Regions from separate parts of the Homo sapiens genome. Here regions 2 and 3 are each linked to region 1. The links are contacts of gene promoters, found by promoter capture Hi-C in blood cells and fetal thymus (Javierre and others, 2016). All regions are on one chromosome and are shown on one strand. The core of a region is centred on a gene start or on the middle of the fragment in contact, and the rest is flanking DNA. Distances in the headings are between cores, read along the strand shown.

Region 1 (3,973 bases), core at 1,324-3,823:
AAAAGCAAATTGCAAAATAGTATCTATCCTAGGAATCCACTTAAAATTGTTTTTAATGTTAATATATTCATAGAAAAATATTGGAAGGAATATGTGCCAAAGATTACCGTGGCTATTTCTGGGGCATGATGTATGTATTTCATAATGTTTACATTTTTATGAACATGGATTACTTTTGCAAACAGGAAAAATCCAATGACGTTGAATTATTTCCCCAAGGGAAGGAAGGAAATAAAAAAGGAACCGGCTGGTAATGAGATTTATTCACTGTCTTTGGGTGAGAGGCTTCAGTGTAATTCCACGGTGAGTGCACTCTGATTCCGGCACCCTGGGCAAGGGCGATATGTAGTAAAAATGAACGGAAGTGACCATGCCCACACCAGGGGCCGCAGACAAACGGCCTCTCTCCGCTCCCTTGCCCTGGTCTCCTGCTTGTTGCTGCGGCTACTGCTGCTGCTCCTGACTCTTGGCTGATGCCTGAGTGCCTGCTTTCTTCCCATTTCCTTCTCTCACCCTGCAAGCCGCTGTAGAGGACACTTAAACATGGTGGTAAAGACCTTGGCCTTTAGAGGTAGGTAGCCCTAGGTTCAAACCCCGACTTCACCACTTTCCTGTGTGACTTTGGAACATTTACTGCTCCTCTTAGGACCTCTGTTTCCTCGTATGAAAAATATCATCATCTTAGAGAACCTGCCTCATAGGATCTCTGGAGTGATGAAAAGAAACAAGTATAAAAAGCCTGGGTGCAGTGGCTCACGCCTGTAATTCCAGCACTTTGGGAGGCTGAGGTGGGCAAATCACTAGAGGTCAGGATTTCGAGACCAGCCTGGCCAACACAGTGAAACCCCATCTCTACTAAAAATACAACAATTAGCCAGGCATGCTTGCTTGAACCCAGGAGGCAGAGGTCACAGTGAGCTGAGATCGTGCCACTGCACTCCAGCCTGGGCAACAGAGCAAGACTCGGTCTCAAAAAAAAAACAAAAACAGAAAAGCCCCAAAGAAGTCTAAAAAGTGCCTGGGCATACTAAGTGCTTAATAATGACACCTATTATTAGTATTATTGTCACCGAGTCCTTTCAATTCTTTCTTGGTTGAATTTTCCCATCTATCTTCTACCTGATAAACTCCTACCCAGCTTCCAGGCCTGGCTCAAAATGCCATCATTGTGAAACCTCTTCTGGTCCCTTTCCCCAACACCCAGAACTGACTGACGTTCCCATTGGAGGGACATTACATTCCGGCACTGTGCTGGGTACCTGGCTGCATTACCCAAATTCTACTCTGATTTGCAGTTCTGTCTCCTCTCCTCTACAGACCCCTAGCTCCTGCAGGGCAGCAGGCAGCTCAGATCTCTTCATCTCAGTGCAGGCCCAGAGTGTGAGTGCAAGTAATCATTTTTCCAATTGATTTAATCCCATCCCTGCTCCTAAGACCTTGGCCTAGCCGTTTCCAGTTCATGGGGGAACTATGATAACAACTGTCTAATCAGTCCCCCACAATTCAGGCTAACATGTGAATTACATAAGTCCTTGCTCAAAACCCTTCAAGGACAGAGCAGAATTTCCGAAAAAATCCCAGAGTTGGAGCCAGACCTGGGTTTAGCTCTAGTTTTGCCACAGGCTGATGTGATCCTATCACCTGGCTTTACCTCTCTAAGCCTTAGCTTGGCCATCAGTAAAACCAAGGCCCTCCTGCCACAGGGCACTAGAGGGTGCTCAGTGAGAAGTGCATGTGAAAATGTGTCAACATTACCTGAATGTTAGCTATTACTATTTCTATTATTTTTGAGAGGTAGTGTATTTTGGGGAGGAAGGAGAGGGTAGTTGAAAAAGTTTCTGTCCTGGAAGTCAAACCACCTCCTGAATGGTAATCTTCAGCAAGTTTCTCCAGTTATACAAAGAGGAGAGCTGTAAGATTTTTCTACTCCTAGGGTCCTGTTTCCTCCAGAAACTGCATTTGAAGCACCCTTTGTGAGACCATTCCACAAGGCAAGGGGGCAAAAACTGTGATCCACCCTTGAAATTAAATGCAAGTATCAGAGAACGTCTGTGCACTCCCATATCCACCCTTGTATTTGAAAAGGGCTTTAGCGTGAAGAAGTCTCCGTCAAATCTTGACGGTGGTATTCTCTACATGGCGGGATTGGGCATCATTTTAATTTTGTGTTTTTCCAAATCTTCGAAATCTGCAATTTTGGAACTAGAGCGATGATGGGGGCACAATATTGTGAAGGCACTACATGCTACTACACTGTCCATTTCAGAACGGCTAGTTCCATATTATGTGAGTGTCGCCTCACTTAAAAACCTTCAATACGCTCCCGATTTTATAGTCATTCTTTAAACCGTAGTTTGAAGAGAGAAGTACAGAGGCTATCAAGGCTCAGGGCCCGCGGAGTCGGGTGACGCTCGCCTCCGCCGATTTGTCCAAGTCGCAACCTAGCCGCCAGCCTGTAGGGCACTCCTCCGACCACGAGGGGACAATGCAAAGCCTCGCGTTCCCCACACTAAGGCGAGCACCGCCTCTTGCGTCTTGGAAGCGCCTGTGCGTGCGTGGGGCGTAGCAAGGGACGGAAGCTCTGCCTGTGCGACCGCCGCCCACCCGAGCCTATCTGGGCTGCGTCTTCTCGCCGCTGCTCTTCGTGGCCCAACGCCCCAATCCTTGCGTGTGCTTGCAGTCCCACCCCACACTCAGCCTTGTGTCCCTCGATCCAGTCTCCGACTTCCATTTCCCACCCTAAACCGCCTACCCGGTGTCTGTTCCCCGCCCGGTTGTCCTCGCCCTGCTGCGCTGAGTGTCCCCTGTTAGCCTCGACCCCATGGCGCTGCAGACGCTGCAGAGCTCGTGGGTGACCTTCCGCAAGATCCTGTCTCACTTCCCCGAGGAGCTGAGTCTGGCTTTCGTCTACGGCTCCGGGGTGTACCGCCAGGCAGGGCCGAGTTCAGACCAGAAGGTGAGCCCGGGCAGCCCCACGACGGGGAACTGTCTGTTCTCACGAGTCCCGTTTTGCCCTCGATTCCTTCAGAGTCGGAGAGCTGCCTGTCCGCTCTGCACACTCCACGTGTCCACTAGCAGAGTGAACCATAGGCCTGCCTTCCTAGTATAACGACAGCGCGAGTTGAAGCGACGGTGTTGAAGGATACTTAGGAATCCACGTGGGTCTAGAGCAGGAGAAGCAGTTAGGCAGAAGGAAAAACTGCTGCAGGGGCAAATGGAAGAAAGGAAAAGAAATCGTTATCAGGTTCTTTCAGTGTTTTAGTCGGCTGGACATCGGAATTTTCTGGGGAGCTTTTAAGAAAATCCTAATGCTCGGCTTCCGCCGATGGAGATTCTGATTTAATTGGTTTGGGATGAGGCCTGGGCTTCAGGAATTTAAGAAACGTCCCAGGTGATTCTAATGCGCAGCCAAGTTTGTTGAGAGTCACCTCTATAAATGTAGGAGAAAATGCAAAATGATCTTCTGACTTCAGGAAGTTGGCGGACTGGTTGTAGGGCCAGGGCAGGTGCAGTGAAAGTAACTAACATCAAAAGTTAGTGCGTGACCAGTGTATTTACCCTCGCTCAGCACTTTTAACAACGGTCTGTTTGAGACTAGGCATTGTTACTTTTCAGAGTTGGCTCAGCACAGCCTCAGTAAGGGTACAGTTTTCCTTGTAATTTGCAGAATTCAGTGTGCAGGTTTTAATGGGGCCCCCTGCGTCTGGATACCTGACTGTAGTCTGTCTTCTGATTAACATCCTGCCTGTTCACTTCCTGGTGAGGCCATCTATGCTGTTGCTTGGATTTCCTCTGTTTCCCACTTACACTACTATTTAATATTTTTCTTTAAATTGGCAGCATATGAGAAATTATAGGTTATTATAGGCTAGTTATTTTTCCCGAATTTACCTTAACATAATTACACATTTTTAAAAAACATGTTTATTCCATACCTGCCTCGCCACCAAATCTCAAGTGTCCCCAGTGGTCT
Region 2 (3,870 bases), core at 517-3,016, 460 kb after region 1:
AGGAAGAGTGTGGGTTACATGGGTGTATACATTTGTTAAAACTTACGGAGTTGTTTTAAGATTCATACATTTCACCATATATAAATTTTACCTAGGAAAAAAAGAACTATGCACAAATAGGAACTGAAGGTTCTAGGTTTATTTTCTGTAGTAGTATGGGCTAGCAATTTTGAAACTACTTCCTGTATTATTCTAGACTTCAGCAAGTGAGTAAATATATCCAGGATACGGCTGGATGCGGTGGCTCACGCCTGTAATCTCAGCACTTTGGGAGGCTGAGGCGGGCGGATCACGAGGTCAGCAGTTAGAGACCAGCCTGGCCAATGGAGTGAAACCCTGTCTCTACTAAAAATACAAAAAATTAGCCAGGCATGGTGGCAAGTGCCTGTAGTCCCAGCTATTTGTGGGGCTGAGGCAGGAGAATCGCTTGAACCTGGGAGGCAGGCGGAGGTTGCAGTGAGCCGAGATTGCAGGTTTCTCACTGTTGGAGAAGGTAGTCAGAAATATGGAAAAGGGAAAACTAGCATCACCGAAAGGTATATAATATATTATATAACTCCTGACATGAGGAGACAGCATCACTTCTTTGGTATTTCCACCAAAAATTCATAACCTGAATCGAATCATAGGGAAACATCAGACAAATCCACATGGAGGGAAATTCTACAAAAATAACTGGCAAAATATCAAAACACTGAAGTTAAGAAAGATAAAGAAAGATGAAGTAACTTTTCCAGATTGAAGGGAGCCAGAGACACGACAACTAAATGCAATGTTTGATCCTCAACTGGATCCTGGTCTGGAAGGAAAAAACCTATAATGAACATTAACTGGTATAAACAACAACATTGAATACACAGACTGTGGATTAGAAAATAGTATTGTGCAAACATTAAATTGCCTGAATTTGATAAGGATATTGTGTTTAGGTAAGAGAATGTCTTTGTTCTTTGGAATTCACATTGAAGCATTCAGTTTTAAAGGATCAGAATGTCTCCAACTTACTCTCAAAATTTCAAGAAAAAAATGGGGTAGGGGAAGGGAAGAAGGAGGGATTGGAGGACGACAGCAAATATACGTGGGGCAAAATGTTAACAATGGATGAATGTGGGTAAAGTGTATACCGGAGTTCCTTGTACTATTCTTCCAATGTTTCTGTTAAGCTTAAAATTATATCAATAGAAAGTTACCCAAAAATACTCTGCCAAAAAATATTTAGGTGAAAGTCTAACAATAACAAAGTAATTTAATGCACTACAGGAAATTCTTTCAGGAATATTGATTTTAAAAATTATACTTTTCCCTCTGGTAGTAACACCACAATACTCTAGTTAGCTTGGAATTTCTTTGTAGAAGTAAAGAGCAACTCATATAAACGTCAAATAAGGTCTTTTGAAATTTCATTGACAAATACCATCTGTTTAGAAAGTTCTGCAAGACAATAAGTAGAAACTGGAATGAAAGTGACTCCTCACCACCCACCTCTCCCCACCATCCTTCAATATTTTTCCCCTAAGATGGAACAATTCACCTCGTTATGTGCCAACCTAAGATCACATAGGATAAGAAATGATTTATGGATAAATGTTCCAACTTTCCTGCTTTAGAAGCAAAGCACTGTATTCTTCCCCACCTCAGGCTACATAAAAAGCTCTCGCTCGCGTGCGTGCGTGCTCGCACTCTCTCTCTCTATATATATGTGTATATAATGTATTGCTTTGTTTGTTTTTAATAAATAAGATAATGAACAAGTGCTTCACTATTCAGCAGAAACTTATTCTACTTCCCCAGTCTGTCTCTATTTGTGGTTAAATCAAGACACAAGCATGGCCTTGATCCTGGTGGGGAGGAGGAAACATACTGAAAACTACCAAAGGAAAAAATTACTTCATGAATGTCAAAGGATAAATTTTTAAAAGTAATTTTTAGCCCCAATCTTTTGAAACAACAACTATGACATGACTCTGTATAACATGTATTATACTAAATATACATTAAGAAAAATTCAAATACACAGAAATGAAAATGTAATTGGATTTGTCATTTTAAAGTATTAATGTTGGGTTTGCAGATAATAGAGAATGACAATCTCCTAAGCAAATAAAGAAGGTAGCCAAGTAAGTAAATGCTGCGTTTCTACTGTAAGGAAATACGTGCACCAATGAAGCAACCTTTCCAGGACAAAAGAAATTTAATACTCAGACCACATGAAAAGTGACCGCTATGGGAATAGCACAGCTGTTAAAATCCAAGTCAGTTTGTATTAAATCGTCCAACATGTTTATGTAAAGCAGGACTCTCAAAATGATCACCAAGAGGAAATAATTTTGCTAACAAAAAAGTGATACCTATATTTAATTAAAAGCTTACAATAAGTGTGAAAGAAAAATGCTAAGCTATTCTCTTTTAAAGTATAAGGAACGCCCAGTTAGATGGTATGCTTGTGATTCTTTTATAAACAGTATCTGAAAGGCTAATTTAATTAGAAATAGAACAAGAATGAATGAGTGTTTGCATTTCACTTAGAGAACCCAATTATCTTTATTTCATTGACTAGCCAGACCAACATAAAGCCATAGAAAACCTGGCACCTGTGCCAAATGATTTCAGTATGAAAATTAATACTGCCAAGTTATTTTGAGACCAGTTAGCTCAACCATTCAAAGAAAAAAAAAATCTGCTCCACTAAAGATGTAGTATACAATCCTAAAACTTGCATTTCTGAAGATGGGGGTGCATGCAGACATCCTTGAGGTCCTGGCTTGAGCAGATATATCTTAAAGGAAACTACAGAAAGAATGGGCTCATGGGTAACTACTGACAAAGTCTAAGCTTGAAATCTCAACATAGGCACTTGGGATGCATAATAAAACAGGCTTAGTTTACTTCGGAAGCAAAAAGAAAATAATTAGTCTCAATTTTTGAGCATCTAAACGTAACCAAATTTATCAACATTGCTTGTCAATTCTACATTCAATTTTTAGAGAAACTGGTCAGGATTGTGCTTCCCATAAAATATAGCCCAAGTACAGTTTTCAAAGGAAGCTTGTCAACTCAGAATAGAGAAATACATCCCTAGAATTCTCTTTCTTCCACAGTGGCAGACAGACGAAGGCTACACGAAAAATAGTTCCAAATTGTAACTGAGAAGCCACAGTTGGGGATTAGTGGTCACCAACATTATTTTGTATAGCACTTCAACATGAAAATCTTTACTTATCAGCAATCATGAGCCTTAAAAGCCCAGGTCAAGTCGCTGGGCAGCAGAAGGCTGAAAGGAACACTTGAAAGGAAATCAGCTATCACATACAGTGTGCATGTAAAAATCACTCAGATGGTATCCGAAAGCCTATTAAAACACGAGATGCCATCACTGTAGTTTTGAGATATATCAGCCGTTTCACATTACGATGGCTAACATACCAGCTCTATTTTTAGAGCTTCTGGAAAGATCAAAGCTGAAGGGGCCCTTTTAGTGGCTCCCCATCCAGGCCCCTAATCTCTGTTTACTTTTTCTTTGTAATTATGTGGATCTGCAGAAGATGCATAGCCAGGGCCGCCTCACCCTCAGAGTAACGCTTTAAAAAATTGCTCTATGAGGGTCCTGGCTAGGAGGGAACCCTCTGGGGAGGAACAAAGAGCAGTAAAGTTCAAATTCAAGACAAAATTAGCATGATGCAAGTATTGATACAGAGTTGAAATATTTTAACTCAGTCTCCCTACACATTTTCTCAGGCTGGTTTTAAACCACTGTGAGAATGAATACAGATCCATGAAAACAAAGTCCTTTCTGAGGGTTTAGACCCCACCCTTCCCCCACAAAAAGCCCTTAGTTGGTTTCAAGGGCTCCAGCTGGTGAGGCTGCGGTCA
Region 3 (4,060 bases), core at 1,220-3,719, 480 kb after region 1:
AACATGCAGGCCACGGATCTTTCAACTCACAAGACCTTTGAAAGAACATTTGTCAGACTGCCAAGTTTAGGTATGGATTGTGGCTCATCCACTAAGTCTCTGTGACCATGAAGAAGTCGTTTCCCCTCTTCTGATTCTCATCCTAAACTGAATATGACAGTGCCGCCCTAGCTGGCAGAAGGTGGGTGGCGAGGAGGAAGAGAGAGACAAGCATGAGCTGAGTCACTCTGCTCTCTGCACTCGTCTGAGTCTGTCCTTGCAAATCACCAGATAGGACTGGTGGGCACCATCACGATTTCACTGATGGGAACAGCAGTCACATTACAGGAGAGGATACATACATGGAATCTAAAAAAAAATGATTTCCAAATAAGACTGGAAAACCTCTTCAATCTCCCAAAAATATAGTAATGAAAATGACTGAAGAGGCAACATGAATTCTAAAAGATCATCCCACTGCCTTTTTCTTTTTACTCCCTAAGGGATGGAACTTCCTCATGATGCTTTGGATTCTTTTTCTGAAAAGACACCCCACTTTTTGGTGACCCTGCATGCTTCTAATGTTTTTCTCATGCCTGCCTATAAAGGTTTTCTATTTGGGTTCAGAGTCAATAATAATAACAAGCAACAGTAAAGAAACAGCAGGCATTGTTTGTTGAGGGCCTATGATATACACTGTTGCTGAGCCCTTTCTAGCAACCATCCATAATCCATACAACTACCAGGTGATGTCAGCATTACCTTCTCTATGTTACAGATAAGAAAACTAAGCCTCAGAGAAGTTTAGTGACTTGGCCAAAGAAGGCCATCTTTATAACGGCAGGGCTGGGATTTAAACCATTGTATGACTGATTCCAAAGCCTGTTTTTTCTGTTCCTATTGCATTATGAGGCCTCTAGTCAGTTTACAAAACGCATCAAAGACTCTGGGCAATGCTTCTCGTTCGTGATTTCCTCCCATCACTATCCCGCAGAATGGAATACCTTCCAGGTGGTCAGAAAGCTCTCCCATTGAAATCCCAGCTGCAGGGTAAGTAGGGTGGATATGAAGTGGGCTGGGCAGATGGAATGGCAAAGAGACCCCACATGCTTTCCCCCTGTACCAAAAGAATTGTGATTTCACTTCCACATCACTAACCTGGTGAGGCACAAGCCCAAGAGAGGTTGGAGGCTCATTCATCCGATCGTCACTGCTGCTGGCAATGGCATAGCCCCTGAGGACAGGAAACAATCAGAGCTGCTCATTTAATCCAAGTTTAACACATGGGAGGATGATCTAGCAGAAATCTACATAAGATTCATAAGGATAACTAAAATGCCCCTTGCTGGGCAGTGTAAGTTAGCAAAAAACTAATTTCCCTGGGACAAAGGGCAAGAAGAGTAATTTAAACATGCATGGTTTGGAGTCAGAAAGACCTGAGCTTGTGACCATAGGCAAGTTGCTTAACTTTTCTGTGCTTCAGATCCATCATCTATAAAGTAGGAATGAGGGAGCTCTGATTAATAAATGAGGAATCTACTACATCAACTGCCGAGTGCAATGTTCGGCATATCAGAGGCCAATAAACATTAACTCACTTACTATGAAATAGTCTTGTCAAACATCACAGCACATTTCTGTACTGAAAATTTGAAGTGGAAAATTTTCTAACCTTAACTTCTTGAGCTGATATAAATGCTAATGAAATGGAAGAAATAAAAGTGAAGAATGAATTGGGCAGAACTAATACACTACTCTCTGAACAATGGAGTGATACTTGTGGCACCAAAAAGATGTGACACAGGACCTGGTGTTTAAACTATGACCAGGGCAAATGTGGCAGACAGAGGCTCAGTGTCAAGGAAGCATAAAGTCAGCTCTCAAAGATTTTATCCCAAATACTTCCTGTCAGAGAGTGGCAATAAACTTAAATGACAGATAGCTAAGGTGGATGACAAAGAGGAAGACAAAAAAGCCCCGCTTTTCATTTATCTCAGAGTACCCATACTAGTTACATATACAACCACAATTTTCAACTGCTGAGGAAAGCTTTGAGTCACACAAGAAATAGAATATTCATGTTAATTTGCATATTGACTTTCTGAGAACTGGAAAAATAAATCTTTCAAAAATTCGATTTTCTGCTGCCTGTATTGCAAACAGCATAACAAAGTCATTAAACATAGTCTGGAGCCACACTGGTTGAGCTAAACCCTGGCTTTTCCATTTACTATGTAAATTTGGCCACTTACTTATCCTCACTATGCCTTGATTTCCCCATCAAAACTGCGACTAATAATAATAGTTCTTTCCTAATATGTTTGCTATGAAGATTAAAGGAGGCCGGGTGCAATGGCTCACGCCTGTAATCCCAACACTTTGGGAGGATAAGGTGGGTGAATCACTTCTGATCACTGAGGTCAGAGGTTCAAGACTAGCCTGACCAACATGGCAAAACCCCATCTCTACTAAAAATACAAAAATCAGCCGGGCATGGTGGCGTATGCCTGTAATTCCAGCTACTTGGGAGGCTGAGGCAGGAGAATCACTTGAACCTAGAAGGCAGAGGTTGCAGTGAGCCAAAATCGTGCCATTACACTCCAGCCTGGGCAACAAGAGCGAAATTCCGTCTCGTTAAAAAAAAAAAAAAAGATTGAAGGAGGCAAAATTTCTAAGGTGCTTAGAACAGTGCCTAGCACAAAGTAAGCCCTATATAAGCGTTGGAAAAATAAAATAAACCATAGTGACTTTGTCCGGAAAGATGCAGAAATGTGGCCACAAAGGAAACATGCCAAGTTATCTCAGCCCAAAGAACCAGACCTGCTTTTTCTAGTCTTGTTTTTTTGAGGGTGAAATAGTGAAATTCTCTGTAAAGTCAGACTGAGAAAAGGCCATGGGAGACACTGATGAACAACTGCCTACAAAAGCTTTGTTTAAATACTCATCTCCTACTAGCAAACTCACCCTTCTGGATGCTGCAAAACAGATACCATCAATTCCACGGCCAGGGCTCCTGCAATCACGGCCAGTCCTGGACGACTCACAGTGCACTGCTGGTCCAAGGTCCGGTCTCTGGTTGACTGCAAAGAAACAATCATTGGTGTGTGCAGAACGTTCTACTCCATTCAACTCTAGCTGTCTCAAGTATGAAATCCTCTGTGACAAAGCTTTAAATTATAACCAGATGCTCATTGTTGGCAAAGAACATCCAGCCTCAAGTACATCATTTCTTGAGATTATCAAGATAAACAAAATATACAATTTAGGTAACTAAATGAGGTGATATGCTAAAAAGGATCAGTAGCCTAAACAGATTGGGGGATATTAACCAAAAATGAGGGCTTAGCTGCCTCATATAATGGAACTGCATCATGTGTTCCTTTAAGTGACTCAATTCAGTTCTACTGTGCTTGGTAGTTAAGTGACAGAGACACAGAAAGGAACAATGATTTGAAAAGTGCAAATGATTCTGCCCTGCCATTTTAACTGAGCTAACACCTCAAAGTGACCGTGAGATGGGAGCAACAATTTACTATTCCTGCGGCCCTCAGTTCCTATGTGCCTCTCACAACATGGGCATCACCTCTCTGTGTGATTCTAGGGTTTACTACAAGTATTTTTTTTTTCTACAACATGGCTCTAAGCACAAGCCTTTGCTGGTTCAACCAAAGAGAGTCTAACCATCCAACTCTGGGCAAATTAAGAGGTTGTTAGAGATATTTTTGACTCTATAAAAATTTTACCTTATGAGCAGATGGGACTTTACTGCAAGGGACCACTAATCGTATTTGTTGACAATCACTAAATAACAAGACCAGCTATATATTATAACACCATAACAGAGATCATCAAGCCATCTTTCTCCATAAAAGAGAATGGTCATCTTCTTTTCTTTATATTGGGAGGGCATAAAAGCCAGTCATCCAAAAGAGATATGAGTTATTAAGGGAAAAGTTTTAAAACAAAGGAAAAATAGAGGGGAGGTTACAGAAAACATCTCTGCATTGTTTCACTGGAAATCGTTATCTGTTCTGATAAAGGAACAGACCTACATACAGACTGACTTGTGTGGAGTTCTGAA

The links. Contacts are between HindIII fragments. The CHiCAGO score rates a contact against its expected background, and 5 or more counts as called.
Region 2: a contact is called between a fragment that was not itself captured here and the fragment with the promoter of TAMM41 in region 1, in 2 of 17 cell types (fetal thymus and total CD4 T cells). The highest score is 6.4, in fetal thymus.
Region 3: a contact is called between a fragment that was not itself captured here and the fragment with the promoter of TAMM41 in region 1, in 1 of 17 cell types (fetal thymus). The highest score is 5.4, in fetal thymus.

Annotation. Positions count from the first base shown.
Region 1 is chr3:11,845,485-11,849,457 of GRCh38, reverse strand. TAMM41 (TAM41 mitochondrial translocator assembly and maintenance homolog) reads left to right here and starts at 2,573. Exons shown (of 8, transcript NM_001284401.2): 1 at 2,573-2,956. The coding sequence starts at 2,822. The HindIII fragment of the contact is 19,949 bases long and covers 1-3,973 here.
Region 2 is chr3:11,380,107-11,383,976 of GRCh38, reverse strand. All of the region lies in intron 19 of ATG7 (autophagy related 7), which reads right to left. Among named protein-coding and RNA genes, the nearest start is that of ATG7, 110 kb to the right of the region's middle. The HindIII fragment of the contact is 1,202 bases long and covers 1,166-2,367 here.
Region 3 is chr3:11,361,812-11,365,871 of GRCh38, reverse strand. It overlaps ATG7 (autophagy related 7), which reads right to left. Exons shown (of 21, transcript NM_001349232.2): 17 at 2,944-3,059; 18 at 1,138-1,213. Among named protein-coding and RNA genes, the nearest start is that of ATG7, 91 kb to the right of the region's middle. RefSeq lists an enhancer at 392-1,591. The HindIII fragment of the contact is 878 bases long and covers 2,031-2,908 here.